Linked DNA regions of Homo sapiens: region 1 is linked to region 2. The links are contacts of gene promoters, found by promoter capture Hi-C in human tissues and cell types (Jung and others, 2019). All regions are on one chromosome and are shown on one strand. Each heading gives the region's core, a stretch centred on a gene start or on the middle of the fragment in contact. The rest is flanking DNA. Distances are from core to core; before and after follow the strand shown.

The links. Contacts are between HindIII fragments. The study calls those that stand out against the background at their distance.
Region 1: a fragment that was not itself captured here is called in contact with the fragment with the promoter of PRSS22 in region 2 in 1 of the 25 tissues and cell types used here (spleen).

What each region holds. Positions count from the first base shown.
Region 1 is chr16:1,832,620-1,835,319 of GRCh38, reverse strand. MEIOB (meiosis specific with OB-fold) reads left to right here. Exons shown (of 14, transcript NM_001163560.3): 14 at 954-1,334. The coding sequence ends at 1,064. It also overlaps a transcript of FAHD1 not described here. Among named protein-coding and RNA genes, the nearest start is that of FAHD1, 6.8 kb to the right of the region's middle. RefSeq lists a silencer at 2,178-2,472. The HindIII fragment of the contact is 8,140 bases long and covers 1-2,700 here.
Region 2 is chr16:2,856,906-2,859,605 of GRCh38, reverse strand. It overlaps PRSS22 (serine protease 22), which reads left to right and starts at 1,436. Exons shown (of 6, transcript NM_022119.4): 1 at 1,436-1,583. The coding sequence starts at 1,502. RefSeq lists enhancers at 250-849, 850-1,450, 1,451-2,051. The HindIII fragment of the contact is 21,792 bases long and covers 1-2,700 here.

The sequences.
Region 1 (2,700 bases), core at 23-2,522, 1.0 Mb after region 2:
TGGTAGTTTGAACACACATTAAGCCCTTTTTCATATGTTATACTTTTTTTTTTTTTTGAGACACAGTCTCACTCTGCTCGCTCTGTCACACAGGCTGGAGCACGTGGTGCGATCACAGCTTACTGCAGCCTCAACCTTCCCAGGCTCAAGTGATCCTCCCGCCTCAGCCACCGAGTAGCTGGGACCACAGGTGTGCACCACCACACCTGGCTAATTTTTATATTTTTAGTAGAGACAGGGTTTCACTTTATTGGCCAGGCTGGTCTTGAACTTCAGGCCTCAAGTGATCTACCTGCCTTGGCCTCCCAAAGTGCTGGGATTACAGGCATGAGCCACCTCACCCAGCCCTGCATTAGACATTTTTTTTAGTGGGGGGGGGTGGGGGGGACAGAGTTTCGCTCTAGTTGCCCAAGCTGGAGTGCAATGGCACAATCTCTGCTCACTGCAACCTCTGCCTCCCGGGTTCAAGGGATTCTCCTGCCTCAGCCTTCTGAGTAGCTGGGATAACAGGTGTGTGCCACCATGCCCGGCTAATTTTTTGTATTTTTAGTAGAAATGGGAGTTTCACCATGTTAGCCAGGCTGGTCTCGAACTCCTGACCTCAGGTGATCCACCCGCCTTGGCCTCCCAAAGTGCTGGGATTACAGGCGTGAGCCACTGCACCAGCACCCGGCCACATTAGACTTTTAATCCCAACTTTCCTACCTGAGAGAAATAGCATGAAAAGTGACAAAATTTTTACAAAATCAGTCAGAAGCTGGGCCTGTAAATTAACTGTACTCCGAGACTGGAACTCTTCCCATCATCTTACAGCTCTAATGGAAGTTTATATTAGTATCTGTAAACAAAACTTTCATTGCAGTTCTCTATTCGTGATCATTGATTTTTCAACTTGATATACAAGGGGATTTTAAAAATTAACCTTTTGTCTCTTTTTCTGTTTCTCCTCGCAGTTCGTTCTATCACACAGAGCAAGGAGTGGATTGAAAATTAGTGTACTCTCGTGCAAGCTTGCAGATCCTACTGAGGCAAGCAGAAACTTGTCTGGACAAAAACATGTTTAAAACGGTCTATCATTTTGAACTCTGGAAAAGTATAAGAGTTTTAACTCCCTTTAAAATGGAATATTAATTTGAAAATTATGGGGAAAATTGCATTTTGTTTACATGTGGTGAACATGTTTCTAGAAATTGTTATGGTGGAGGTGGTCTGGGTGAGTCTGAAGGCCTCTCTCATCTGACCTCCCTTCTTAGAAGGCCTCCTACTGTCTTTGCCTTGTCTCCTCCCAAGTTGGAAAATGTTTACATGAATTAATAAACAGATTTAATCTTCTACAGATTTGAATGATTTATTTTCTTTTCCATGTAGTTGAACGGCTTTGAGTGAGTTTCTTAATCCTGAGTGAATGATTTATTTTCTTAAGCCAGTTTATTATTTGTCTTGGTTCCCTGGAAAAAGAGTAGGACCTCAAGGGCTGGGCACGGTGGCTCATGCCTGTAATCCCAGCACTTTGGGATGCCAAGGCAGTCAGGAGATCGAGACCATCCTGGCTAACACAGTGAAACCCCATCTCTACTAAAAATACAAAAAATTAGCTGGGTGTGGTGGCACGTGCCTGTTGTCCCAGCTACTCGGGAGGCTGAGGCAGGAGAATCTCTTGAACCTGGGATGAGGAGGTTGTAGTGAGCTGAGATCCAGCCACTGCACTCCAGCCTGGGCGACAGAGCGAGACTCTGTCTTAAAAAAAAAAAAAAAAAAAAAAAAAGTACCTCTAAAGACTACTTTCTGAGAGCTGGGTGGTGACTCGTCATCTGACAGATCTGACAGGATGAGGGCAAGGGGCTCTTGGTGCTGGGTGGGAATAGCCAAAGTCGTGGGCAATCCTGTGCGACTGCTTTGAGCACCTGGGGCTCTTCTAGTCCCTGGTCTTCTCTGGTGACACACTGGAGTGCCCAGTGCTTGTGGAGGCTTGCTGGCTCAGGGCTGACATGACTGAGTCTGAATCAACTGGGAGGAGACCAACTTCAAAAGGTTCATGAGCATGCCTGGGTCTCAGAACTCTGAGGGGGACCTACTCAGGACATGAGGACGACAGCTGCCACTTTATCTGTTTGCTTTGCAGCAGCCACAAAGTAAACGGCTCAACTGCACACCATTGAGAGTCACTTGCTTCAGGGCGCAGACTCCAGCTGTGAAGACCCACCGCTAAGGTCAGTGTTGACCCACGGCCTGGGAGGTTTGACCTGGTACTTTAGAAGGCTACATGCCCTCCACCACAGGATTGAAAAAAAAGGAAAAAGTGAGTATATGAAACTGTTTCCTAAGGCTGGTGTTGGGAGATAAACCATCGTCAGTCATGTTTTATCTGGCTTTTACCATGTGCAGCCACAGAGGAGGGATGCAGGTTCACCCCTAAGTGTCCAAATTGTGGTGATAAGGTAATGAACGACTTGACCTAGTTGTGCAGAACAGGCCTTCCATCCTCCCTTGGGGAGAACTGGGGGGTTTGTGAAGCCAGGTGAATGGGGAGGGTGGACAGGGAAGGAAGGAGAGGAGAGAAGTGAGGGTGTCGTGGTTGGTGCTGGCTTGGCTCCCACTGTTGGTTCAGCAAGAGTGGGTATGGTGCCCCCTCCACTGAGCCCCGTGTCCAGGAGCTCAGGAGAAGCCACCTTACTCGGTTAATTTTAAAACATTTTGTAG
Region 2 (2,700 bases), core at 187-2,686:
CTGCCTCAGTTTCCTTATCTGCAGAGTGGGAATAATAAAGACATTTGAGGATTAGGAGGCAATGCATGGCACTCCTAAATGTTTGCTCTATTATATAAATACTATATTTATATTTGTATAAATATATTTATTACATACATATTCACTACTATGGTTTTTTTTTTTTTTTTTTGAAACAGAGTCTCGCTCTGTCGCCCAGGCTGGAGTGCAGTGGCGTGATCTCAGCTCACTGCAACCTCCGCCTCCCAGGTTCAAGCGATTCTCCTGCCTCAGCCTCCCAAGTAGATGGGACTAAGGGCGCCTGCCACCATGCCTGGCTAATTTTTTTTTTTTTGTATTTTTAGTAGAGACGGGGTTTTACTATGTTGGCCAGACTGGTATTGAACTCCTGACCTCATGATCTGTCCGTCTTGGCCTCCCAAAGTGCTGGGATTACAGGAATAAGCCACCCCACCCAGACACTATGGTTGTTTTTAATTCACCCCCGGCGGTAGCAAGGGCCCTGCTGGAGGCTTGTTGATCGAATGAGTGAAGGGGCGCAGGCTCCTGCCTCTTTGTAGAGGAGGAAGCCTGCCCTGCTTGGGTGGGAGTGTCCCAAGTGTGGGGCGCTGCAGGGCACTGAGTCAGGGAAGGTCTCACAGGATTCAGCCCCGGGTTGCCACTGTGGCAGCCGCTGGGGGGAAGCACCGAGAATCCACTCCCAGCCCAGGACCCGGCCCCCCACAGCCCAGCCCAGCAGCTCTTTGAATCCTGGGAGTCCCAGCCCTTCCCGGGGCCCCTCTTCTCTCAACCCCCCTGCTTGGCCGAGCCCTGGTGCCCATGGGCTCCTCCCCTTCCCAGGAGTCCAGGTGAGGTGAGTTGTCAGGTGTCTGAACCGCAGGGCAGAGCCCCGCCTCCAGGAACGACAGGAGGGCGGCCACCAGGAGGCCACCAAGGTCGCCACTCACCTGATTCACAGCTTTCGGGAAGTGGGTTAACGGGATTCCCAAGCCCGGGTTGCGCCAGGTCTCTGGGCTGAGTCACAGGGGCCTGGGGCCCTGCAGGTGGGAGCCGTTACTGAGCTTTGGGCACCCCCTTGATCCCTAAGGCCCTAGGACCACCCCCAACACCCAGTACCCCAGACTTCAGCCTCTCCAAACCCAGGCCCTCCCCAGCCCGGAACCCCTTCCTTTCAGTGCCCTGGCACCTTTCTCTGCCCCTGGACAATTAATGTCAGGGACCTCTGGGCCCAAGCCCCCTCCCCTGCCCTTCCAGAGGCCACATCCTGGGGTCTCAGCTAGAGCCCCCCCAGAGCCCTGTAGCGGCTGGCTTCCTCCCCGCAGCCCCGCCCTCTGCCCAGGACCCACAGCCGGGGTGGCCGCGGGAGCCACCTGGGGACTGGTCTGACGGCATTCCGCCTCCCAGGATAAAACCTGGGGCGACCTGCAGGGAACCTACACACCCTGACCCGCATCGCCCTGGGTCTCTCGAGCCTGCTGCCTGCTCCCCCGCCCCACCAGCCATGGTGGTTTCTGGAGCGCCCCCAGCCCTGGGTGGGGGCTGTCTCGGCACCTTCACCTCCCTGCTGCTGCTGGCGTCGACAGGTACGTCCGGAGGCTGCTCCTCCCTCCTCCCTCTCACCTCCACCCTCCTTCCCTCCTTCCCTCCCTCCCTCTCTCCCTCCTGGCCTTGCCTCTCTCATCTCCTTTCCGCTTCTGCTCTGTTTATCTCTTGCTCCTTAACTGCTCTGTGCCTCGGTTTCTTCTACGGCTGTGAGGATGAAACAGAAAACGCAGCAAGTACGCAGCGCGCCTCGGTCTCCAGTTACCGTCGGCGTCGCCATCGCCTGCTCCCTCTCGCCTCCGTGTTCTCCCATCTCCTCGTCCTCCGCTGCTTGCCTCTGGGGAAGCACCGTTTTGTGTTGTTCCTGCCGCAGGAGGTCAGGGGAGGGCACACCAGCGGCAGCAGCGTCCAGAGCCGAGGGGCTCAGGTCTGTGCCTCCCTCGAGGAGCCGGTCCTGGTCCCCGGAAGGCAGGCTGGACGGGAAGCTGCGGGAGGGCAGGGTCACAGCTGTGCAGCCAGGGCCTGGCCAGGCCCCAGGAAATGCCCCGCCGGTAGGGGCCCTGGGGTTGAGAGACTTGAGAGTCTCCCTGGGCACTGGAGGGCTAGAGGTTCCTCACCACCAGGTACTCAAGGGGACCCCCTCCTCACTGGGCGCTGGGACGCCTGCTCACTGGGCGCTGGGACCCCTCCTCACTGGGCGCTGGGACCCCCTCCTCACTGAGCGCTGGGACCCCCTCGTCACTGGGCGCTGGGGACCCCTCCTCACTGGGCGCTGGGGAGCCCTCCTCACTGGGCGCTGGGGACCCCTCCTCACTGGGCGCTGGGGAACCCTCCTCACTAGGCGCTGGGGAGCCCTCCTCACTGGGCGCTGGGGACCCCTCCTCACTGGGTGCTGGGACCCCTTCCCACTGGGCACTGGACCCCTTCTCACTGGGTGCTGGGGGCTTCTCGCTGGGCGCTGAGGGACCCTCCTCACTGGGTACTGGGACCCCTCCTCACTGGGCGCTGAGGGACCCTCCTCAGGGGGTGCTGGGACCCCTCCTCACTGGGCGCTGAGGGACCCTCCTCACTGGGTGCTGGGACCTCCACCTCACTGGGCACTGGGATCCCTTCTTACTGGGTGTTGGGGGCCTTCCTCACTGGGCGTTGAGGGCCCCT